Regions from separate parts of the Homo sapiens genome. Here regions 1, 2 and 4 are each linked to region 3. Evidence: promoter capture Hi-C in human tissues and cell types (Jung and others, 2019). All regions are on one chromosome and are shown on one strand. The core of a region is centred on a gene start or on the middle of the fragment in contact, and the rest is flanking DNA. Distances in the headings are between cores, read along the strand shown.

Region 1 (6,727 bases), core at 1,599-4,098, 140 kb before region 3:
TCTTTGAATACAAGGGAGCTTCTACTTCAAGGCATTTACATTGGCTGTTGCCTTAGCTTAGAACGCTCTTTCTCCAGATAGCCGCAGAGCCCGCTCTCTCACCTGACTCATGTCTCTGCTCAAATGTTAATGATCAAGAGGCAGTCCCCGGCCTCCCTCTTAAAATTACAACCTGTCACTCTCCAATCCTTTCCTCACGATTTTCTCAAAAGCACTTACCGCTAACCAACATTATATCTAAATTTTTTTTTGTCTCTTTTTATTGGAATGTAAGTTTCATGTAAGCAGGAACTGTATATCACTGCTATACCCTCAGCATTTAAAACAATGGCTGTACATCATACATACTCAATAAATATTTGTTGGATAAACTACAAGAATTCTGGTATTTGAGAGCCAAAGGGCCTTAAGAGACCATCTCATATAGCCCCCTCATTGTCCAGATGGGGAAAACGGGAACCCAGAGAGACAAAGCGATTTGGCCAGGGTCACCTGGTTAATGGGAGAGCTTTAGGTAGAACCCAGGCCTGCAAACATCTAGTCCAGTGTTCAGCAAACTGGCCTCTGCCTCCTAATTTTGTATAGCCTACAAGTTAAGAATGATTTTTTTTTCATTTTCGAGTGGTTGAGAAAAAAAGTAAACAAAATATATATACTATATTGTGACATGAAAATGATACGAAATTCAAATCTCAGTGTATGTTAATAACTATTAGAACACAACCATGCCCAGGCATTTACATGTGGCTGTTTTCCCCATATAATAGAAGAGTTGAATAGTTGGCAATGAAGACTGTGGCCTACAAAACCTGAAATATATACTATCGGTCCCTTTACAGGAAAAATTTGCCAAACCCTACTCTAAACAATATTCCATGACTGGAAATGTGTTTTCTAAAATTCTCGTATTAATGCAGAGAATAAAAGCAACAGATGTCAGAATGATGTGCACCGAATATTGTTTCTTAGTCAATGTCTCTGACCCCTTACACATCTTTTGGGATAGAGAACTGGCTGTGCCAGCCCTAGTGGCATCACTGTACTGCTTAAGGCTATCAATGTGGGCTAAATCCTCTCATTGTCCCTGTGAGGAAACTAAGGCCGTAAGAACTTGGGCTTCAGATTTAGACTTGTAGCCCCAGCTATGTAAGCAGATTTGTCAGGACTCCCAGCTCAAGTGACAAAAACACTACTCCAACTCCCTTGCGGTAGAACATGTATTGGTTCATGTAACTGAGAAGTCCAGGTGTTCAGTGAAATGGTTAGGATTCTGTCTATCTCTTGATTGTGTTTTCCTCTGGGTTGGTTTCATTCTCAAGCAGGCTCTTCCTTGTGGTCTCTGGAGAGACCTCTTGAATCCCAGGTTAAAAAGAAAAAAACAAAAACCCAAAAAAAACAGATCTGTCAGAATTTATCCGAGTACGCAGGTCTGTGTCTTCTTTCCTCTGCATTCAATCTTAAACTTGGCTAAGATTACTGATTATGCTGAATGACATTTAATTTTTACATGCCCTGTGACTTTTCTAAACTAGAAGCATAATTTTAAATTTTCACCTTAAAAAACAAGTTATGTGTTCCTCTTCTGAAAACAGGCCTATCCCATTTGAGAAGCTTTCTGGTGGGCGACCTCATCAGAAGGAAGGTTACTCATTCCTGAAACAGATGGCATTTGCCATGTGTGATGCGTGGAGGGTGTAAAGATGATGAGGCAGGAGCCCTGTGCACTGTGATGTACCGTGATAAAGGGACGACTCAGCAGCTTCAAGACACCAGAGGATGGGAACCAGGCTGGGAATGGGACATGGTGACATAGGTGATTTCCCCCCGAGCTGAGCGGCCAAACGATGTTTAATAAGCTGCGTAAACGGTTTAAGGGGGACGTTGAACAAAGAACAAAGCCCCAAAGTGAGAGATATTAAGATTTAATCTAAGTAAGGAGTTAAGATACTTCCAAATACCTAGAACCATAGGATAAGCCAGGTTTATGAGGCCTTCTACAAATCAGTCCCACTAGGCATTCTCCTAACCAGACTAAACTATTTGTGCACCCTAAACATGATGGACTCTCCTGGATTCCCCTGTCCTTGTACAAGATGTGCCTTCTACCTGGGAAGTCCCTTCTGCCCACCCCCACCACTTGTCTAACAGATATTTTCCCACCCATGCTCATTCCTATAAGGCAGTTAATTGCCTTTCTGCGTCTTAACGACCTGGGTCTGTTTTAGCACTTATCACTACATATAATGTGCTTTATAATTTAAAAAACGATTCTCACCAAAAGTAAGATGAGTTTCAGGGGCAAATTACCTCCCAGAAAGCAAACAAGCCAACTCTCTTCTCATAGATGGGGTAAATTCCAGCTGCTGTAAAATCTCCACTTCCAAGGCTTCCGCTGCTATCCCTACCCTGATATCTCTGAAATTCCTTCTCTTAGATCCAGGCTCTCTTCTGAGCTGCAGAGCCATATGTCCCGTTCACTCCTGGGCACTTCCACTTGAATATTCCCTTGGTACATTGACTCAAAACCGAGCTCATGGATCCCTCTTGCCCTTCCTCAATTGCTCCCATGTTCTGTGTCACTGGGAAAAATAAAATAAACTATTAGAAACCTGAGAGTTATCTTGAACATTTTCCACTCCCCCACTCCCTATATCCAGTCTCCTAAATGTTATATAGCTGATGATATCATATATGATACATTTGTATGTATTTATACCATATATACTACATATATATGATTCTATATATAACCTTAATATGTAAAGTTGGTTAGACGTGGTGGCTCACGCCTGTAATCCCAGCACTTTGGCCAAGGCAGGCAGATCACTTCACGCCAGGAGTTTGAGACCAGCCTGGCAAAATAGTGAAACCACGTCTCTACTAAAAATACAAAAAATTGGCTGGGCACGGTGGCTCATGCCTGTAATCTCAGCACTTTGGGAGGCCAAGGCAGGCGAATCACCTGAGGTCAGGAGTTGGAGACCAGCCTGACCAACATGGAGAAACCCCATCTCTACTAAAAATACAAAATTAGCTGGGCGTGGTGGCACATGCCTGCAATCCCAGCTACTTGGGAGGCTGAGGCAGGAGAATCGCTTGAACCCAGGAGGTGGAAGTTGCGGTGAGCCGAGATTACGCCATTGCACTCCAGCCTGGGCGAGAAGAGCAAAACTCTGTCTCAAATAAACAAAAGCAAAAGCAAAAAATTAGCTGGACATGGAGGCACGTGCCAGTAATCCAGCTACTCAGGAGGCTGAGGCATAAGAATCACTTGAACCCAGGAGGTAGAGGTTGCAGTGAGCCGAGATGGTGCTACTGCACTCCAGCCTGGGCGACAGAACGAGACTCTGCCTCAAGGAAAAAAAAAAAAAAGATGATTAGAAAACTGGATGTGTTGTAGATATGTATATGATGATATACAACATAATAAAGTAAAATAATAAACTTTTAATTATTTTATTTCTGTTCATCCTCCTTGTTCCTGCAGCTGCCTCATTCCTTCTCCCTTAGATTACTAGTTAATAAACGTTCAGTATTGCTGCAATCAATTAAGTACTTACCCCTTCAAATCTATCTTCAAACCAACTACTTAAGTCATCTTTCCAAATCTCCAACTTCACCATGTCATCTCCATGCTGACAAGCCCCTCATAGTTCCTATTTTGAAGTTGAAATTCCTTGGCATTCTATAGAAGACTATTTGTGAGGCTATGTGTAAGCTGTATCTACCCTCTGCTGGAAAAAGATTAATACGGGAGATTTATTTTCAATCATGTGGTCAGGGTAGAATTCTCTGAGGAGGGAACATCTAGCACCTTGAGGATCCCCACTTAGCTAGTGCCTTCTGTGTGACCATTACCTCATCTTCTTAGTGGTAACAGTGATAACAATGTCTCTTGGTGGCCAAGAACTTAACTCGTAGATGCATCATGGTCTCCTGGTATCATCACAGCACTTGTCAATGGGTTATCTATTAATCCCCATTTTACGGTTGAGGGAACTAAGGCTCATAGAGTTTGTGACTTGCCTTCGGCCCCCCAACCAGTGTGTAACAGGGTCAGGTTATCAATATAGGCCACCTGGCTCCAACCCCGGAATCCTTAACCACTGTGCTGTGCAACTCCTGCAGGATGCTGCTTCCTGTGTCACTGTAGGCTTGTAGACTCCAGCTTCCAAGATGAATCTAACCTCGTCAACACTCAGCTCCCCACAATCTGGCTCCTGTCTACTTCCCTAGCCTCATCTCCCTTTGTTGCCCCAGCAAACACTAACTGGGCCGCCACTCTTTATCCTGGTCCAACTCCTTTCTGCTCTTGCCTGTCTGTACTTACTCATCCTTCAGGACTTATCTGAAACGTCACCTCCTCTAGGAAGCCTTCCTGATCCACCACCCATAAGCCAGGTTAAGTGACCCTCCTCCTTGCTTCTATAGCACCCTTTGTAGCACCTGTCACACTGCACTGAGTTGCTGGCTTTCTTCTCTCTTAAGAGACTGTGGGCTCCTCAAGGGCAGGGACAAGGACAGCTTCCTCTATTTCCTGGGCCTAGTGTGGAACCTGGTATGGAGTAAATGCTTCACAAATGTCTGCTGACCTGAACTTACTTAGCGAATGTCAGAGCTTCCTGGAAGGGGACTTCCAGTAACTATAATTGTTCACATTTGCAATATGCTTTGAGGTATGCAATATTGCTTTGCCATATACTTTGAAGCTTTGATTTGTCCCCTGCCTTCATAAAGAATTTGATGTGGTACCTAGTAGAATAACAAACAGAAAATTCAGAGAGCCCGTGCCACAATGACGGCTAATGTTTATTGATTGACTACTGTGTGCCAGGCATATTTCTGAGTCCTGTCACATGGATCATTTGCGTAATTTTCACAACCATAGGAGTTGAACTCGGTTATCCTCACTTAACAGATGAGGAAACTGAGGCTGATGAGTGACTGAAGAACTTTTCCAGGATTACCCAAGTAATAAAGGGAAGTGACAAGGTTGACATTAAGGCCATCTGGCCCCGGAGTTTTGTGCTTCTCAAATCCCTTTCACACTGATTATCTTATTGACTCCTCTGAGATTGATATTGTTCCCAGATATTGATATTAAGAAAAATGTGTTTCAGATAAGTGACTTTTCCAAGTTCAGCGTGCCAGGAAGTGGCTGGGCTGGGTTGGTGGTCTATCTTACGCCCAGGCTCGCTCCGTCACTTCCACATCGCTGATTCACACGCGCATTTTGCAAACAAGGACACTGAGGCCAGGAGAGGTAAATTGCCGGCCTAGGGTCATACAGTTTGTACCCCATTCTGTGCTCTTTCCTCAAACAGGAAATACCTAGGAAGCTGATGGGGTGAGGGTAGGTCCTAGGCTTGGAAGGGGGGTGCTGCCGTGTCTCTTCCCATTGTCCCTTTCTCATTTGTCACAATCTGAATGTTTAAATTTCGTATTTAGTATTTACTCTGAAATGGCTTTCATCTGATTTCCCCCTTGCTCACCAATTTAGCTGTCAAAGTAAATAAATGTGAAGCTGGGTCTCCAGCCTCCCCCAGCTCACATTACCTTCCTAGAATTACTCCCCGGCAGGGTCGAACCATTGCTGGGGGCCTCCCACAGAATTATCCAGTTACTAATGAAGCCTCTTTCAAACTGAACCCTTGGGCCTAGACTCAAATGGGGGAAGATGGCAAAATTCACCCCAGAGGACCAGATGACCACATCCTGTTTAGTGACCGGGAGAAGAACTGCAAAGTGAGAAGATGCCATTATTCATGTAGGGTGCTTAATACAGCTTCAGGGTTGTATAAATGAATAAATCTACAACACTTTAAAAAATATTAGTTCTTTTTTTTTTTTTTTTTTTTTTTTTTTGAGATCGAGTGTCACTCTGTTGCCAGGCTGGAGTGCAGTGGTGCAATCTCGGCTCACTGCAGCCTCTGCCTCCCAGGTTCAAGCAATTCTCCTGCCTCAGCCCTCAGCCTCCCGACTAGCTGGGACTATAGCCACCTGCCACCACACCCGGCTAATTTTTGTATTTTTAGGAGAGACTGAGTTTCACTATGTTGGCCAGGATGGGCTTGATCTCCTGACCTTGTGATCCACCCACCTTGGCCTCCCAAAGTGCTGGGATTACAGGCATAAGCCACTGCACCCAGCCAAAATATTAGTTTTTAATGTATAGTTAGTTGTCACTTCAATTCTGAGAGGTCAGTATCATTATTCCCCGTTTTGCAGGTGAGGAACTGAGGCTCAGAGAAGCTAAGTGACTCAAAGTGACCCACAGTTTGTCATAGGAAGAAATCAAGTATCCTAATGGAAGGTACTATGTTTGCTAATCCTAATTTTGCCAAGGTCACTCCTATCTGGACTCTTTTTCCTGATGGAAAAAGATGGAGTCAGGAGTCATTGGAAGAGAGATTTCTTTTCCAAAGTAATTTCACTTCTGTCCTCTTTGAAGTTAGGCAAGTTCTGGGCTCGAATAATGGTTCTGCATCTTCCTTAGGTAAGTTATTCAGGAGAAGATTTGATTTTTTTTGGTTGATTCATCCCCTGCCTTCATAAAGAATTTGATGTAGTACCTAGTAGAATCACAACCACAAGATTCAGCCGGTCCATTGCCATAATGATGGCTGTTTATCATTTGCTTACTGTGTGCCTGGCATATTTCTGAGCCCTATTACATGGATCATTTGCGTAATTTTCACAACCATAGGAGTTGAACTCGGTTATCCCC
Region 2 (6,909 bases), core at 1,728-4,227, 200 kb before region 3:
AAACAAAAACAGAAAGTACTCTCAGAAGTCCATGGATGCAAGAATACAGACTTACAAGTAAAACAGACCCAAGTTTGAATCCTGCTCAACTCTACCTTTACTAGCTAAATGAACCCAAGCAAGTTACCTAACAACTCGGGCTGACTTTGCTCATGTATAAAAAATAGGGAACAGAGTGAGTTCAATCATAGAGTATAGAGCCTAGAATACAGTATGCACTCAGTAAACAGTCACTTTCCTTAATATTATTATTGCCGTACAGTGAGCCAGGGGAGGCATTAAAATACCAATCGGGTTTCCTAAAAGAACCACATCAAGTTTGGGTCTAAGTACCAACAGAGGGGTCACTTGGGTGTGTTGCAGATGGTTTTCTGGCCCTGAAATGTCCATGTCTCTAAGAAGCGCAGTACTATGCAGTGATGTTGCAAACAAGCACTCAATCAAGGGCAAGAGCCACAGCATCCCCCACATTCTGCATTCACTTCTTTCCCAATTACGGTCCCCATGCCACCACTTCCCACTCCCAGCAGAACAGGAAGTAGGCCTTAGAAAATCATTGAGACATGGTTAGCAAAAGAGAAAAAATTTAAACTAAGATACTTGACACTTGGGAACTGGTTAATGTAAGTGTAAAATGCCAATAGTACACCTTTAGAAAAAGAGTGAGGAAGAATTCTCATAACAGAGAGCAATGGCACACTGTTAAGTTTTTTTTTTTAGGTACAGAACACTATGTATAGTATAATCCCATATCATTACAAGAAAAATGAAGGAGATACCAGACATATGCTTGACTTTGCATTGGAAAAAATCTAGAAAATCAAGGTACTAAAAGTGGTTCCCTAAGGAGAAAAGGATGGAGGCATTTTCTCTTTTTTTTTGAGATGGAGTCTCACTTGGTCGCCCAGGTTGGGGTGCAATGGCACGATCTCGGCTCACTGCAACCTCCACCTCCCGGGTTCAAGCGATTCACCTCAGCTTCCTGAGTAGCTGGGATTACAGGCGCACGCCACCATGCCCAGCTAATTTTTGTATTTTTAGTAGAGATGGGGTTTCATCATGTTGGTCAGGCTGGTCTTGAACTTCTGACCTTGTGATCTGCCTGCCTCGGCCTCCCAAAGTGCTGGGATTACAGGTGTAAGCCACTGTGCTTAGCCTCATTTAAATATTTTATGTAATTTTATTTAAAATAAAACCAACAGAGACGCTGATGAAGGAATCGGAAGACAATCAAGGAAAGATGCAAACTTGGTGAGGAATGAGTCAATCATCTGTAGTTTTGTTTCCTGGGTGAATTCATAGTTTCCTTATAGCATTATTTAAAGCCAGGCATGAACTCAGCAATCTCAAACCAAAGCACCACTATTCTACTTAGTGTGGTTTTCCCATAGACATTTGGTAAAACAATGAGTAAGGGAGTGTATTCTTATTTGTTTATTTGCTTGGGGGCATAATGATGATGTGAATAAGGTGGAGGCAGAAACCTGGCCTGAACAAAATGAACCCCTGATCAAAACTTTTCAGGGCCCCTGATTAAGGAGTGAAAAGACTGATATTCCAGATAAATCTTCTATCAGGAGACAGGAACAGGAAGAAAGGCAGTGACAAAGACCCCAATTCTAACCCTGCTTCTGCCACTTACTAGCTATCTGATATTGGGCATCAACTTCTATGAGCTTCAGGACTCTCATCAGTCAAATGAGCCTAAAATAGTCTCTTCACCACATAGTGTTGTAAGAATTTGGGGAGAAATTGTAAAGTGTTCAGCTCAACACTTCCAGGCATTATACCTCTAGTTTAGGTGGTTGATAAATGGTACCTAAAATGTAATTACATGAATTGGAAAAATAGAAGAAACTATTTCAGTATATCTCCATTAACAGGAATGTCCCAAAAAAACCAATCCAGTTGACTAACTTATCTAAATAAAAATCACTGCCAGAGAAGCAAACAAAAGCTATCCACATTGTCAGTGGGAAAAGATATAATCCAGAGCCCCTAAGACTCAATGGTTATTTACCTGAGGAGACAGCCACGATAAAAAAAAAACTCGCAAACAGCCACGCAGAGCTGAGTCTCAGAGGCTGTAAAAAGAGGTCTTGATGATAAGGACCACTCAGGCTCCAAGCCTGGCCTGTTACTGATTTAGGATTTATCTTTTACCTACTTCCCCAAAAGATCAGAGGCAGATTATAGTTAAGAGTCACATACTCAGTAGACTCATTTAAATAAGAATATAAGAATCAGAGGAATGTAATGAGGGTGAGGTAATAGGTGAGATCTGCTTCAATTGAAAATAAAATTTAGTTCTGGGTATCCAGAGTTAAGGCAAAAAAGCAAACCTATAGACTATCATTAGGCAGTGGAAGAATCAGGATCAATCAGAGGAGGCAAATTTTCCTAGAACTAAACTCAAACTTTTATAATCAGAAACTGATCTAAGGGGCCAGGCGCAGTGGCTTACAACTGTAATCCCAGCACTTTGGGTGGCCGAAGTGGGCAGATCACTTGAGGTCAAGAGTTCGAGACCAGCCTGGCTAACATGGTGAAATCCCGTCTCTACTAAAAATACAAAAATTAGCCAGACGTGGTGGCGGGCGCCTGTAATCCCAGCTACCTGGGAGGCTGAGGCAGGAGAATTGCTTGAACCTGGGAGGCGCAGGCTGCAGTGAGCTGGGATCGCACCACTGCACTCCAGCCTGGGCTACACAGTAAGACTCCATCTCAAAAAAAAAAAAAAAGGAAACTGATCTTAAGAATGTATGCTTCCTATTTCCCCTACCCCTCAAAGTCCCAACTTAAGATATGATGTGTTATTTTCCTCCTCACCGCTTTGTCAATTACCAGCTGTGTGACCCAGAACCAATGCCTCACCTCTCTGAATCTCATTTTCTTCATCCCTAAAAAGGAATGATGCTCCTATTTGTGAAAGGGGATGATGGAAATAGCATATTTGCTAGCATTAATTGGGTGCTTACTAAGCATCAAAAGCTTCATGTACATTATCTCACTGAAATCTCCCAATAAGCATATATGGCAAGTCCTGTAAATTATCATTTCACAGATGAGCTGCCTGAGATTCACAGAGGCAGAGACAGGTGCCACTGTCACACAGCTAAAAAGCAGGAAATGTTGGAACTCAATTTCATGCTTACGTGACACCAACGCAAAATTTAACCATTATACTTTTCTGCTTTCCTGAATATGTAAGGCACCTAACCATTCCTGGCACATAGTAGGTGCTCGACCTATTAGTTCCCTTCTTCCCTCCATCCTTTTCTCCTAAAATTATATAATATGTAGAAAATTAAAAGTTTACTGAAGTAATATCTTATGTTTATATAGTTTAAGGAAATCATACCACTTAATTTATTTTCTCTATTAATCTCACCACATCTCTGCTTATCATTATGCACTAACCTATTTTACAAATAAGGAACTAGAAGGCAGCAAGCAACTAGGGCGCTGTGCCCAGAGTCATATGGAAGTCACTGCTAAAACCAAATAAAAACCTCGATCCTCTTACTTATAAATCAACCTTTATCCTCTCACGTAACACAGCCTCTATAATAAAGAACAGATCATTCATTTTTTATCTGGAAAACTACCAAACGTTATAATTCAGTAAGGGGCCTCATGACCCCACCACCTTGTCAAAGGGAAGAAAGTATATAAAAAAATGAGGTTTGCAGGAGCAGACGGTTTTGGTCCATCAACTTTCTCTTGGATTACACCCATTAACCAAAATAAAATAATGTAAAAAATAATGTAACAGATCCTCTTATCTTTGGAAATTCGAGTTAAACTCACTGATCTTTCAAACTTACATACAATGCACCGACAGTGATCATTTACTCTTGCGGGGCTGCAGAAATGCATGTTATGTCAACCAGATCTTTGAAAGAAAAATGTGATACACAACTGAGTCACCCTAAGAAGAATCCAAATCAGCAATGAGCATTTAGTAGCACAAATTCATAGCCCCACAGTATTTTGGAGCTTCAGAAACGACCTGGCAGGCCACTAAGAACAACCCCTTCATCTGACATGTGAGGAAGCCAAGGCTCAGGGAGGTTAAGTGACTGTCCAAGGTTTCACAAACAGGACAGCAAAAACTAGAAAATAAGCCTGCTGACTACTATCTATTACTCTTGTAAATCTTGCTTCTAACGTCCATGTGTACATTTAGCACTTTCCAGAATTATGCATCTACACAGAAAATGCAGGAGAAAGGTAACAGAAAAACTCAGGCTTCAAATCCTGACTGCCATTTACTGGTCATGTGATCTCGGGCAAGTCCCTTAATTTCTCTGAACTTCACATTTTTCATCTATAAATGTGGGCCCTAGTAATTTCCACAAGTAAGTTGGAGGCAATACAAACAAGAGGCCTGGCACACAGCCTGTGAGCTCCATGAAGGCATACATCACGTCTATACATCCCCAGCACAGAGCCTGGCACATACGCATTCTCAGAACATTCACTAAGCAAATCAATGAACTTGCCAAACAAACTTGAACTATCTGGTTCAAGCAGAAAGACTTGAACCTAGGTCTATCTGCTTCTTAAACGTTAGGTTATATTGTTCCCAATTCACATGATTTCAAAGCAGAGTGTTACTTCAGCCTCACAGAGTACTGAGAACACAATGGAACAAGACAGCTATTTTCTGGCCACGAGGCAGGAAAAAGTTCAGTGTGGAAAGTTTCTGGACTCCCGTGTTGGGATTGATTCTTGTTGTCTGCATGGGTATGGGTACATCATGAGGCTTTGTTATCAACTAAACCTGGGTTTGGGTCCCAGCTTCAGCACAAGCTGTGTGGCTTCAAAGACATGAGCCTAAATTTCCACAACTAGGAAAAAACCTACTTTACAGGGATTAGACAAATGAGGTAATATATGTAAAGGAATACAGGATAATGTGTGGCACTAAAAGACACTCAACTAGTGTTCAACTCCATTTCCCTTTTAGTTATCTGGAAGCTTTGTTCATTAGGTCTTTGTTCAAATGTCCCTTTCTTCATGACCCTCCCTATCCATAATAAAAGCCCCAAATCTCCCTATCCCCTTACTTTGCTTGTTTTTCTTCATTGTCCTTACTATCACTTGACATTCCATTACGTACTTATTTACTGTGCCTATGCAACTATCAGGGAAGCCCGAGGAAGAGAGGGACTTTTTGTTGTTTGTTTTGTTTACTGCTATATTCCAACAACTAAGAAAGTATCTGGCATGTCATTAGTACTTAATAAATATTTGTTGAAAGACTGAACGAGTTAATTCAACACTTATTTGGGCCTTGCTATATATGAGGCACTGTGTAGGAATAGGGATTTAAATCTTTTGCTGTGGAATCGGAGAAGATGTGTCTCACCTGGACTGCTGCAGGTGCCTCCTGACTGTTCCCCTTGTGTCCACTTTGTACCCCTATAGTCCATTTGTTAAACCAGCAGTCAGAGAGACCCTCACATAGTCAACATCAGATCAGGTCATTCCCCTGCTTAAATCCTTCCACTGACTTCCCATCACAGTGAGAATAAAGCCCACTCACCATGACTTATAATGCCTAAACCATCAGCCTCTACTGACTAGTCCAACCTCCTCTCCTACCACCCTCTCCCTGCATTTCACACACACTGGCTTTTTTCTTTCTCAAAAAGGTCAAGGTCTTATATTTTCTCTTCTTTTTTTAAATTTAAAAATGAACATTTTTATTCACTTAAAACTTTAAGTTCTATATATTTATATAATTAACAATATTCTGTTCTCAGCTTAAAATTCTTCGACTAGCAAGGACTAATGTAAAAAAAATAGCTCTTCAAAGAATATAAGTTAGAGACTACCAGTGTCAAGGTCTTTTCAAACTGGAGGCCTTTCTGCTTGCTGTTCACGCTGCCCAAAATGCTCTCCCCTAGGCTGGTTCTTTCTCATCATTTAGCTCTTAGCAAAAATGTTACCTGCATAAAGAGTCTTCTCAGGCTACAGGTGCCCCTGCCACCATCATCCTTACCAAGTCACTCTCTATTGGATCCCACTGTCTTTTCTTTCCTCATAGCATTTCATTATCTGGAATGACTTTATTTATTTGTCCTACCTTCCCAACCAGAATGTAAACTATGTAAGGACAACAAATTCTCAAGCTTACTGCTGCAAACCTCACATCTAGTACATAACAGGCGCTCAATAAGTATTTCTGAATCAGTAAAGTGATCTCAAAAGATGTTTGCCAGGGTGAAAGGTACAGGTAAGGTATGTTATTGGCCTAACGGTATAGTAGGGTATTTGTTGGTTTCCTTCCAAGGACAACCACCCCGTTTCATCAAAATATGTGAATTTCAGCCAAACTTACTGGGGAATGGGTACCCGAATTAGCGTCCCTTCCACTTCTGGGTTCAGATTCATTCCACTTTCTCTTATAGCCTTGATAGCTGCAGCTGTACACTGAAAACCAGATCAAAAGGTAAACAGAATTAGTAAATAATTATTACCAGATGCAAGCCCTCTGTCGATAACTGGCAACCCATCTTGGCAGAACATGGAAACATTTAGTTCTGTTACCAGTAAGATCAGGAAGTTACATTGGTGTAGAGTGCTTTGATCAAGCTGAATAGCAAACTATGTCCACTCCTGGTACCACTGTACTGCAGGAGGAAAAAAAGAAAGAAGAAAAAATAAAAAGAAAACAGCTCTGCCTCTTTGAAAAGATTTCAATGGTTTGAGGCAACACAGATCAAAACCACAATAAATCCTCAAGGGAGGGGGGCTGGTCTCTGCAAAGATTGGTGTAAAGACAGATGAAAGATTTCATACGTAAAAAAATCCAGTTGACATTTTACACTCAAAATATACCAGTGCCGATTTGGAATGAGTAAATAAATTTAACTCATTCGCATCTGCACTCACACCAAA
Region 3 (6,230 bases), core at 553-3,052:
AATGATGGCAACTCCCAAAAATGGAAAGCAGGGGCTCAAACAGGTATTTGTATACCAATGTTAACCGACATTCTTCACAATAGCCAAAAGGTGGAAACAACCTAAGTCCATTGACAGATGAATGGATAAAAACGAGGTGGTGTATGCACACGACGAAATATTTTTCAGTCTTAAAAATGAGTGAAATTTGGACTCATGCTACAACATGGAGAAACCTTGAGGACATTATGCTACGTGAAATAAGCCAGACAAATACTGTATGATTCCACTGACATGAGGAACCAGGAATAGTCAAATTCATAGTCAGAAAGTAGAAATGGTGGTTCCCAGGGACTAGGAGAGAAGGGAATCCCGACTTATTGTTTCATAGACACAAAGTTTCAGTTTGGTAAGATAAAAGAGTTCCGGAGACCCATAGTGGTGCTGGTTGCACAACAATGTGAGTATACAGAATGCCACTGAATTGTACACTAAAAATGGTTAAAATGGCAAATTTTGTTATATTTTACCACAACAAAAAAAGTGATATAAGTAAAAGCAGTCAGGCTGGACGTGGTGGCTCACGCTTGTAATCTCAGCACTTTGGGAGGCTGAGGCGGGTGGATCATCTGAGGTCGGGAGTTAGAGACCAGCCTGGCCAAGATGGTGAAACCCCGTCTATACTAAAAATACAAAAAATTAGCCGGGCATGGTGGCCGGCTCCTGCAATCCCAGCTACTCACAAGGCTGAGGCAGGAGAATTGCTTGAAGCCGGGAGGCGGAGGCTGCAATGAGCCGAGATCACACCATTGCATCCCAGCCTGGGCGACAAGAGCGAAACTCTGTAACAACATCAACAACAACAACAAAACAAAAACAAAAACAAAAAAGAAAACAAGAGACGCGGTGGTTCTGCTTGTAATCCTAGTACTTTGGGAGGCCGAGGCTGGCAGATTACCTGAGGTCAGGAGTTTGAGAACAGCCTCGGCAACATGGCGAAACCACGTTTCTACGAGAAACACAAAACTTAGCCGGGAGTGGTGGTACATTCGTGTAGTCTCAGCTACTCGGGAGGTTGGGGTGGGAGGATCCCTTGAGCTCTGGAAGTTGAGGCTGCTGCAGTGAGCCGGGATCGCGCCACTGCACTCCAGCCTGGGCGACAGAGAGAGACCCTGTCTAAAAAAAAAAAAAAAAAAGAAAAAAAGAAAAGAAAAAGAAAAAATCGTTAATATCCTCAACTCGAGTGGGAATCTATAGGGGGCTTACCCATGCCCATGACTTCCCCATCCCATCGGGAGCTCCCTGAGAACAGGGAAAAGTGCCTCCCCTCTTATCTGGGGGCGCTCAAAGGACCAGCAGAGGGTTTCTTCAGCGGAACACTCTCTGCTCCCCTAGGGCCTGGGCTGCTCACATCCATCGCACTGAGGAGGGTCCCATCCATTGCACTGAGGAGGGTCCCATCCATTGCACTGAGGAGGGTCCCACTGGGGGGCTCCTCCTCCGTCCTATCGAGAGTTATCCCAGCGAGTGTTGGCGGGGACTGAGCCTCCTGCTTGAGGTAGTTGTTTTTACTCCCAGTCCCCAGGCTCACGAGCCCCACGCGCGCTCAATCTGCCCTCCCGCTTCTCCTCGCCACTCCGAGTTCTGCGCCCTCGAGATCCAGCGCATCCGCGGGGTGGGCGGGTCCTGGCGGCTCTTTGCCCTCTTCCAACATGGCCGCCGCTGCCTCTGTGACAGGCAGGGTCACGTGGGCAGCCTCGCCTATGAGGTCGCTGGGGCTCGGCCGGCGATTGTCCCTTCCCGGACCCCGTCTCGATGCGGTGACTGCCGCTGTCAACCCGAGCCTGAGCGATCATGGCAACGGGCTCGGGCGGGGAACGCGTGGCAGCGGCTGCAGCGGCGGCAGTTTGGTGGCGGACTGGGGCGGCGGAGCGGCGGCGGCGGCGGCGGTGGCACTGGCACTGGCCCCGGCCCTGAGCACCATGCGGCGGGGCAGCTCCGAGAGCGAGCTGGCGGCCCGGTGGGAGGCGGAGGCGGTGGCTGCGGCCAAAGCGGCGGCCAAAGCTGAGGCCGAGGCCACAGCGGAGACGGTGGCGGAACAGGTCCGCGTGGACGCGGGCGCGGCCGGGGAACCGGAGTGCAAGGCAGGGGAGGAGCAGCCCAAGGTCCTGGCCCCGGCCCCGGCGCAGCCCAGTGCGGCTGAGGAGGGGAACACCCAGGTCCTTCAGCGGCCGCCGCCCACGCTGCCCCCGTCCAAGCCGAAGCCGGTGCAGGGCCTCTGCCCGCACGGGAAGCCCCGGGACAAGGGCCGAAGCTGCAAGCGGAGCTCGGGCCACGGTTCCGGCGAGAACGGCTCCCAGCGGCCGGTCACCGTGGACAGCTCCAAGGCCAGGACCTCCCTGGATGCCCTGAAGATCAGCATCCGCCAGCTCAAGTGGAAGGAGGTGAGGCCCGGCCCGACCCGGCCGCGTGGGCACAGTGGGGTGGACAGGACGACCTCAGAGGTCTCGGCACGGCCCAGGTCAGGTCGGCGGGCGAGGGCTGAGCTCCTGCGGTGCACCACGCTCGGGCCTGCTTGTCAGCCGCAAAGTGCTCATCCTTCAAGGCCTACCCCCCAAAATCACTTCCTCCAAGAGGGCCCCCCAGACCCCTCCAGGTCAAGTTAGCCACTCACTCCTCTGCCTCCCTGCAGCTCTTTTTATGTCTCAGCCATCAGCATTTGCCTCTGCTTGTAGATATGTGTACGTCTGTCTCCTCCACCAGCTTGTAAGCCCCTGGGGCCCCGGACCCGCTCTCTCACTTCTTCATTGAAGTTATATTTGTTTAGCACTTGCTGTGTGACTCTTGGGCAGAGGAACACTTTTTATTTTGGAGGCAGACAGGCCTAGGGTCTCACTACACTTTGCTACTTAGCTGTGTGACCTTGAGTAAGTTGCTTCACCTCTTCAGCCTATTACCTTCTCTGTAAAGTGAGGCCAATTATACTTATCTCATCATCTTGTTAGCATTAGAAGACTCACTACTTAGTGTTTTATAGCACAAGTCTGCAATAAATGGTAACTTACGTTACCACCTTCTCCTTTCTCTCTTCTTCCACCATCATCACCATCACCACCACCAGCACCACCACTGTCCTCATGATCAGTGGTATAAAATCAGGCACTGTATTTTATATTCCAGGCTTGGCTTACGGCATGTGTCAGTAAGCAGTGAATGAAAGGGTGAATGAATACATGAGTTATCATCCCTGAGCCCATTTTAGACTGGCAGGGGATGGAATGTAGCACCAGTGACTCTAGAGGTGTCTGTTGCAATTGGCTACGTGGATAAAGCCATTTGACTTTATTTGCAGCATATAAGGTATTTAATGTGCTTTCAGGAGTGTCAGGAGTTTGATTAAGGATAGCTGAGTGTGGACACAGCCAGTGGTAACAGGGATCTGCTGCGGGTAACAGAGGACTCAGGTTCTTAGCCCTGTGCCTTGGCTATGGTAGATGCTCGGTAATGGTTTCATTAAGTTGGAACATACAGAGAGATGGCCACAGAAAGGACTGATGTGGTCAGAGGGTTGATGTCCCAATAGGAAAAAGTGCATTTGGTTTGGAGGGAAGTCAAGGATCAGGCAGAACCGACTTCCAGGTGGATAGGGTGTAGCCGTTGGGGAAGTTTGACTCCAAGTGTCTGGGCCCCCAGCCTTGGGGCTTGGGATTCAGAGGGGAACTTTCATGCTGGGGAAACTTGGGGAAAACAAAGGCAGGCTCTCAGTTCTAAAGTATCTGGGTTTCTAGGCAGGGCCCCAGGTCCAGGCCAGAGATATGAGGGCTAGAAAAGGTACAACTGGACAACTTGTCAGTGCCGTGGTCTTAATGAAGGGAGAATCCAGCAAATAAAACCAGGCTATGGAGTCAGGCTAGGCAGATTGGCCCAAGTGGGGCCTCCACTTAGCTTATCCCTGTGGGAGAGAGAGACATAAAGCAGGCCAGATCTCGTTTGCTCGGAGAGATGGGGCCAGATGGACTAATACATCCCAGCCCAGGTTCGTTCACTCATTCCGTAAATGTCCACTTTGGAGGTGCCAAGTTCTTTGCTGGGCCCTGGGAACCAAACATACTTAAGATGTGACCCTTGCCCCCAAGGACTTCATGGTTCAATAGGGAATAAAACACAAGTAAAGGAATAATTGCGGTCATTACAGGTCATTACATTGCTGCTGCATCCTGAAATTCTCCCTTTTCATTTATTTGCATGGCTTACTCTTGTCACTTCTTTAGATGATACCTTCCCCATCAATCTCCAGCCCTTGGTATTTATTTTTTTTCCATAGTACTAAACTTCGCCAGGCATTATATTATGTATTGCTTGTTTATTGTCGTTTCCCTCACTAGAATGTAAGCTCCATGAGGGCAGGGGCTTTGTTTTGTTTATTGCTGTACCCGCAGGTACTTGGCACACAGAAGTTGCTCAATAAATATTCGTTGAATGAATGAATACATTATGTGATGAGTGTTTCTGTGTGAAAGGAGAAATGCTGCGGGAGGTAGAGGAGGGGCACCCAGGAAGGACTTCCTGGAGGAAATAAACCCGAGCTGAGTTGTGAGTGCTGAAAATGAACTGGAGTTATTTAGGGTCATGGACTTTGGATCCCTGGTTGCAGGAGTGGTGTGGGCAAAGCAGAGGCCCTTTCAGGACTTTGAGTATGGCCGGATCATAGCGTGGGAGGTGGAGTGGTAAGAGATGGGGCTTCAGAAATGAGCAGGGATCAGATCATGTGCCATGCGATGGGATTTGGACCTGTTTTGGGGAGGAAGGCTATGTGAGCCATTAACAGAATTTTGATGTTCTTCCATTTATCAGGGCAAGTCAGTTAAACCCTTGAGGCCTCAGTTTGCTTATCTGTAAAGTAGGGGTGGACAGAGCTAATTCAGCAGTTTCCAGTCTTTCTACTTCGGTAGCCGCATAATGGTAATGTTGATCTACTCTCTACTTCGGTAGCCGCATAATGGTAATGTTGATCTACATGAGACTGTTGCACTGGTCACCCCCAGTGGGTAGGCTTTTTCCAAGGCACTACCTGTAACTGCTTCTTCCACCTCCAACCCTGCCCTTTTTTTCCCACTCAGAGAACACATTGGCATATAGGTGGAGATGTTTATTCTAGTATATTTTAAAACATAATTCACTGAATGTGGTGGCTCATGCCTGTAATTCCACCTACTTGGGAGGCTGAGGTGGGAGGATCACTTGAGTCCAGGAGTTCAAGGATGCAGTGAGCTATGATTGTGCCACTGCACACCAGCCTGGGTGACAGAGCAAGACCCTGTCTCTAAAAAAAATATTGAAAATTAAAAAAACAATTCACTTGCAACAATAAGACTCTACTATTAGGCTTGTGATTATTACTGTCACCCTTCCTCATTACTGCATGAAGTCCTGAGGGCAGGGGTGGTATCTGACTTATGTCCCTAATGCACAGCATATTCTAGGTGCTCAATAAATATTCATCAAATGAATTATGGAATATTTGCAAGAGAGCTTACATCACATCTTGACACCCTAGTGTGGAGGTTGAAAAGTGCCAGAGTAGCTAAACTTTAAAGTTCCTTCCTGCTTTAAACTATGATTATAGTATTCTTAGTACCTCCTACAAAGTTGACTGCATGAAAACTAACATATATATATATCCCTGGTACTAACAAAGTGCAAACACATGACCTTTCTTATGCCTGCCTTTCCCCATCTGTTATGAGGTGATATTGGATGAGATCATCTTGAACTCCCAGCGCTGTTTTAGGAGCAAGAACTTCTACTGGGGGCTGTGGTGCAAGGGTGTGAGCAACAGTATCTCTTGCAGCCCATGCTGTGTTGCTGTGGGTTTGGGGAGTACTCAGGTGGCTGGCTTTGGTGGGAGTGGATGAGTAGCCCAGGTAAGAAATAAGGTCATGAACACCAACCAGAGTGAGAGCTGTGTCTCCTTTTATGGGTGCATAGTGAGGAGCTATATATCACCGTCCACTTTAACAGGGTAGGACTGAGCCAGCATGTGAATTCAGAAGTTTGCTCAGCTGCAGGGCACACAATCTCGCTTCCTTTTTCACTTTTTTTTTTTTTTTTTTTGAGACAGGGTGTCGTTCTGTCATCCAGGCTGGAGTGCAGTGGTGCTATCTTGGCTCACTGCACTCTCACTACAACCTCTGCCTCAGAGGTTCAAGCAGTTCTCCTGCCTCAGCCTCCTGAGTAGCTGAGATTACAGG
Region 4 (6,110 bases), core at 3,337-5,836, 240 kb before region 3:
GAGAATCAAGCTTTGCAGGACACCAACCATAAAGGGCCTCAAATGCCATGCTAAATTGTTTGCACTTTATCCTGAGGACATGGGAGCCATGAGAAGGCTTTGAGCAAGGGAGGAAGCCATTGTCTACCATTTATGTCTCAAGTCCTCACTATGTGCCAGGCATGGTTCTGAATGCCTTGTGTATAGGAACTCATCTTATCCCCTCATCAGCCCCATGCGTGAGCAAATACTCCAGGCTCATCATCCCTTAACCACAAGATTGAAATTCAAAAAGCTTCAGTGACCAAAAAGGTTTTCCACAGGTCTGATGCCACATCTGACCTGGACTAAGGAGAGGCTATTTTGGGTCTTCATTTCACTACCTGATACGAATATTTATATGTTTTTGGGAAAAAACATGAATTTAATTATAAGAAATGCCCTAGATCCCACTGGGAGGTCACGCAGCACACAGGATACGTTTTGCGTTAGACTTTAGAATAAGAAGAACTCTGAAACTCATCTAACTTTACAGGTTTTAGAGAAGGGACTCTGGACTTAGAATCTTTATGTTACAGATGAGGAAACTGTCATAGAGTGGGTTAAGTACCCTACTCCAGACCACACAGCAGTACAGATTCAGACAATATAGATCCAGACTGTATTGGCTTTGGAGTCTGCAGCACACACCCTCTCTGTTGGCGTCCAGGCCTGGCCCAGAGTTTCAGGGGCCCCTGGGGATGGGAGAAGGAGCCAGCACTGCTCAGCACTTGCTCTGAACCTGGCCCTGTACGGACCCTGCTGGCCCTTGACTGTCAGCTGCACCCAGCTGTGGGCATTTCTACCCCCATTTTGGAGGTGGGGAAAGCAAGGATCAGAAAGGGGCATAAGCTTGGCCAAAGTTCTGCAGCAAGTGGGTAGCAGGCCAGGCGTGGTGGCTCACACCTGTAATCCCAGCACTTTGGGAGGCTGAGGTGGGCAGAACACTTGAGGTCAGGAGTTCGAGACCAGTCTGGCCAACATGGTGAAACCCCATCCTTCTAAAAATACAAAAATTAGCCAGGTGTGGTGGTGTGTGCCTGTAATCCCAGCTACTCCAGAGGCTGAGGCAGGAGAATCCCTTGAACCCGGGTTGGGAGGTGGGGGGCGGAGGTTGCAGTGAGCGGAGAGCATGCCACTGCACTCCAGCCTGGGTGACAGAGCAAGACTCTGTCTCAAAAAAAAAAAAAAAAAGAGATGATAGGGTAGCAGAACTGGGAATGGGGCCCAGGTCTGGAGTCACCAGAATCCTGATCTTCTTGCTTTTCTGGGGACCAGCAGATGAGGCACAAGCTGGGCCTGGTGGGGCTACGGAAGTAGACCCCAGTCAAAAGCAGATCTTGGTCAAGAACCCCAGCCCCAGGCTGCAGGCAGCACAGCTACTGTACTCCAGGCCCTGGGTGACAGCCCCCACCCCACCTCCATCCCCACCAGGCCTGCCTCAGCCTCACTCCTGGGCTGCCCCTCTGCCTCTGTGTCCAGCGCCCTCCAGAAAGCCTGCCCTGATTCCCCCAAGCCAAGCTTCCATCTTCCTCATACTCAGGCACTCTGCTTATGCCTTCTGTACTCCCCTTCATTAACTCAAAGTGTGTTTAAGCCATTTCACTCACATGGCCTCACCTGCCCAGGGATGTGGGGGTCCTCCCTTCGGAAGGTCAAGTGGTGCCAAGGGACTGAGCACAAGCTCTGGAGCCAGAATAGACCAGGATTCAAATCCTAGCTGGGATCATTATTAGCAGTGTGATTCAGGAAAATCACTTTACTTCTCTAGATCTCAATTTCCTGAACTGTAAAGCGAAAACAATAGTAATAGCATCTCCCTCAGCGGCTGCTGTGAAGATTAAATGAGGCAATGCTTGTCAGATGCCCCAGCACGAGGCCTCTACTCACGGAAGCTGCTGCCTTAATCACTTTTAGCTGCCCGGTTCATTGTTGACTCTCAGTAAGTTCTGATCATTCCTTTTGCTGCTACGAGGGATGCTCAATTTTAAAAAGAAAAAGGAAAAAAGCCTCTGAGCCTGGCTCTTCACACTGCCAGGATGTGGCCCTTGCCACTTCTGCCTCATGTCCTGAGACTTTCTTTTGGGACCCCTGACTCTGCATTTGTACTTCACGTGCTCATGGTTCCCTGTCCCCTCTCCAGGGTTTCTTACCTCCTGCCTCTGCCTGTACCATTCTGGACACCTGGCACTCCTTCTCCATGCCCCATTTATGCATGTCTCAATTCTATGATTCACTCATATTTACTCATTCATTTATTCATAACAAATGTTTTATTAAGTCTACTTTGTGCCCAGCTCTCTACTAGCTACTTTCACATAAGATAATCTTCTTGACAGCCTTGCAGGGGAAGGAGTATTGTCTGCATTTTATAGAGGAAGAAACTGGGCTCAGAGAGGTTCAGTCACTTGCCCGAGATGACACAGCTAGCACGTGGCAGAGCTGGGATTTGTCGTGGTCCTATCAGTCTCCAGAGCTCAGCTATTTCCTCTCCATCCTGCAGGTGCGCAGGTTGGAAAGCAGGCGTGGTAGGGGAAGGCAGCCCTTTGTGCCTGGGTGGGAGAGAGGGGAGTAGGGAAAGGTGAGGCAAGGTAGATTCATTCTGCCAGGAGAACCTGGGGGAGGGGAGGCAGGAAGGGAGCTTCTTTGGGGGCAGCTGGCCGCAGACAGCAGCAGGTTTGTCTAGGATGATCCCAGTCGGCTTGAAGAGTCAGTGGGAGTCCTCTTGAACCCTCCCCACCCAACTCCAGCCCCCTCTTCCAGCCTGAGTGAGAATAGGTCTGTGATGAAAGAGAGCTGGCTGCTTCCCAGCCGTCCTTCCCTCGTCCTGGGAGGGAAGGACAGATGACCCAGTGCAGGTCACTGTAGGAAGGCTCCAAAGAGTTCAGAAATGAGCCGCTCCCCAACCTCCTCCTTCCAGGGCCACAGCTCTAAAGGAAGCAGTCCTGGGGATCTCAACTCTGCCAATCCCAGACAGAGGCCAGCTCTGGGCAACACGTGACCTGACAGCAAAGGAGCAGATGTGGCCTGGCAAAGGGAACAGACAACCAGACCCAGGGAGATGAGGAGATGGACAGGGAGGCAAGGGAAGGGATGGGGGAGGAAGGGACAAGGAGACATACAGGGAGATGGAGACAGGGAAACAGGAGAGAAATGTACACAGAGATGCAAGCAGAAAGAGCCTAGGGAAGCTGAGCGAAAGCAGAAGCAGAGGTATAGGCATGGGCAATGACTGGATGAGTGGGGGCGTCCATTCAACCAGGAAAGAAGACATCTTCCTGACTGCACACAGGACAGAATGATGAGGGAATGGTCCCCAGGGGCAGCCAGAGGAACAAGAAAGTGGCCCCCAGCCTGCATCAGGAGACTCTCACTTCAATGCTGTGTGACTTTTTACCCAGACCTCCCCTCTCCAGACTTCAGTAGTCCCACCAGCCACACAGGAGCCCTCTGCTTCAATTCAGATTCCTGCATCTCTACAAGCCCCGTCTAGGGAGCCGAGGGCAGTGACAGGAAAGAACCTGAGCCCGGAGCGGTGGCTGCACAGGCGTGTCTCGTTCCTGACCATGGCTGGCTATGACCCCAGCCACTTCCAGGTTCCCTTGTGTCCATGATGGCAGTAGCTTGGGTCCCTGAATTTTTGTGCATCCACATGTCTCTCTCTGCATCCTGTCAGGTCTGTGTTTACGTTTGAAGGTTTTATAAAGAAGCTGCCCAAAGGAAGTGAGGTTTGCAAAGTGCAGACCGTCGTCTTGGCTCTAATGCTTAGCGTGTGGGATGCTCAGCTGTTAGCCCTGGGTCCTCTTCCTCCCCACACCTCCCTCCAGCCTTGTGCCTAGTGTTGAGTCCAGGCCCGGACTATGAATCGTGACAGCCACCAGAAGCATTTGGAGGACAGACCAGGATAGGAGGCTGGAGGATGGCTTCTGGGAATGGAAGCTGCAGGAATCGAGAAGACCAGCCCTAGGAAGGTGACCCAGGAGAGCACAGTCACCAGCTGCTGACCTCAGGGGCTACAACGGGGCAAAGGAGCAGAGGTGGGCTGGGCCCAGAGCGCACAGTCAGGGCTGGGGAGGGTGGCTTCAGGAGTCATAGAAAGCACCTTCTCGCTATGGAACTGTGGGAGGCGGAAGAGGGTCCTTGCAGGGAAGGAGTTTCTCATTCCCAGGGAGGAGAAGTTGCCAAACCACTGGACAGAGGTGTCGTAGAGAGGATTCAAGCATCAGATAAGGGATGGATTAGGAGACTTCTGAGGCCCAATTCTGAGAATATCCTGGCCCTCCACCCAATAAAGCAATAGAGAAATCCAGAAAATGATGCCGGAGACAACTGCCTCAGGCTCCAAAATTTCCCACCTGCCTCGGGCTGGCTTTTGTCTCTTACTGGTTGCCCACACGGCCACAGCTTAAGCCCTCCAGAGGGAGTAATGACAGTGATTATGATCATAACAGCAGCAGCAAATACACAGCAGGAATGCACTGCTATAGCCCCACCAGTTGTTAAAAGATTGAAACATGTCCACACCAGTTGTTAAATAGCCACTGCTCCAAGCATCTTGAGCACACCCTCCCCTGCCAGCCCAGCTGCCAGGGCCTTAACTTCACATTCCAGTCTCTGCCCAGAGAGAGAGCCTGTCCTACTCGGAGCATCCCTGTGCTTCAGTTCACCTGGAGAACACTATCCTGAATGGGGTGCCCAGCCTTGGCCACAGAGGCTGCCCACTGCAGGGTGCCCCCTCCTCCAAGGCCCCTCTCCCAAAGCCTGAGCAATCAAGGCTGCTGCCTCCCTGGGCTGGTGCAAGTGCCCGCCTCCTCCCGGCCCCTCTCCTCGGCTGCAAACCCAGCTCATTTGCATGTGGATCGCGCCTGCCACCATGGGTGCTGGGGTCAATTGAAACTCAAGAAAAGAGAAGAAATTTATGCAAAACTGTTGATTGCATTTGTATGTAATGAAATCATCCAATATTCATCTGACTATAGAATCTAATCTGAGAAGAGAACTGAAGGACATGAGTGTCACTGCAAAACCGTAATGAGCCACTGTAGTGATTAAAAAAGCTCTTGAGCCTTCTGAAAATCCAGGCAGAAATAGCGTCTAATCAACTCTGAATATAGGAGGCGAGATTGGGCTGGCGCGTTGCGCACGGCCCGCCGCGGTGCTGGGGGTGCGTGGTAAACCCTGGCGGCCGCGGTCTGTGGGTGCCAATCGCCCGGCACCCACCACAATCAGCCGAGCCCTCGGCGCACAAAGCAATCTCTGCCTCTCGCCATGCAGAAAGAGCCCAATCACAGCTGTTGTGAAGAGCAGCTTGAGGCTTCTGCACCGGCCTCAAAAGCCTCACCTAAGGCCTCTTCTGGGTTCCTTGCTCCAACCGAGAGGCAGGAAGAGTTTGGGGACCTGGGCCTGCCATACCTGGACACACCTGTGGCCCAGACAGCCCCAGGCAGGGGAGGGTCTGTGTCTCGCAGAAGCCCTCGCTCATCACTGAAATGTCACCTCCTCTGTGAGGCATTCCCTGACTGCCCCATCTAAACTGACAACCCCCACCCCCTCACCACCACCCTCCCAATTCTTTAACTCCTGCTTTGTTTTCCTTCACAGCACTCAGCTATGCCTGGCACTAAGTTATTTCTCTATGGATTTAATGCCTGCCTCTCCCAAGTAGACCGTGAGCTCCACAAAGGCAGGGACTTTGTGATGGTTTGTTTACCCTGTGGAGTGTGGAGAACCATGCCTGGCACTTAGTAGGTGCTCAACAAGTATCTACCAAGATGCTTAAATATTTGTTGAATGGCTACATCAGTTTCACTAGGAAGCCACATGTATTTATTTGTGCATTCAGCAAATACTTGTTGAGTGTACAGTGTGTGTCAGGCTTCATCCTGGGGACTGAGCGTGCAGTGTGAATGAGACAGTTCTTGCCTTCTCAGAGCTCACAGTTGGGGCAGGAGACAGATGCGAAAGTCGTTACATATAATCAGATGGGATAGTGCGGTGCTGGGGGCAGACCAGAGGCTCTCAGAGCTGCTAAACCCAATCTGGGGAGGTCAGGGAAGGCTGCCCGGAGGGAGTGACATTGGGTTGAGAGCTAA

Evidence for each region. Contacts are between HindIII fragments. The study calls those that stand out against the background at their distance.
Region 1: a contact is called between a fragment that was not itself captured here and the fragment with the promoter of TTLL11 in region 3, in 3 of the 25 tissues and cell types used here (pancreas, spleen and thymus).
Region 2: a contact is called between a fragment that was not itself captured here and the fragment with the promoter of TTLL11 in region 3, in 2 of the 25 tissues and cell types used here (bladder and thymus).
Region 4: a fragment that was not itself captured here is called in contact with the fragment with the promoter of TTLL11 in region 3 in 1 of the 25 tissues and cell types used here (lymphoblastoid cells).

What each region holds. Positions count from the first base shown.
Region 1 is chr9:122,231,851-122,238,577 of GRCh38, reverse strand. It overlaps RBM18 (RNA binding motif protein 18), which reads left to right. Exons shown (of 6, transcript NM_033117.4): 6 at 1-956. Among named protein-coding and RNA genes, the nearest start is that of LHX6, 6.3 kb to the right of the region's middle. RefSeq lists a silencer at 1,042-1,242. The HindIII fragment of the contact is 6,020 bases long and covers 1-5,858 here.
Region 2 is chr9:122,291,281-122,298,189 of GRCh38, reverse strand. MRRF (mitochondrial ribosome recycling factor) reads right to left here. Exons shown (of 7, transcript NM_138777.5): 5 at 6,350-6,441. Among named protein-coding and RNA genes, the nearest start is that of MRRF, 30 kb to the right of the region's middle. The HindIII fragment of the contact is 5,171 bases long and covers 392-5,562 here.
Region 3 is chr9:122,088,880-122,095,109 of GRCh38, reverse strand. TTLL11 (tubulin tyrosine ligase like 11) reads left to right here and starts at 1,802. Exons shown (of 9, transcript NM_001139442.2): 1 at 1,802-2,423. The coding sequence starts at 1,962. It overlaps LOC124902263 (a long non-coding RNA gene), which reads right to left and starts at 978. Exons shown (of 2, transcript XR_007061757.1): 1 at 938-978. It overlaps LOC124902262 (a long non-coding RNA gene), which reads right to left. Exons shown (of 3, transcript XR_007061755.1): 3 at 3,831-4,073. RefSeq lists enhancers at 1,622-1,811, 1,561-2,274 and a silencer at 2,162-2,211. The HindIII fragment of the contact is 16,076 bases long and covers 1-6,230 here.
Region 4 is chr9:122,336,127-122,342,236 of GRCh38, reverse strand. No RefSeq gene overlaps it. Among named protein-coding and RNA genes, the nearest start is that of PTGS1, 32 kb to the left of the region's middle. RefSeq lists enhancers at 4,558-5,161, 5,162-5,767. The HindIII fragment of the contact is 6,762 bases long and covers 1,206-6,110 here.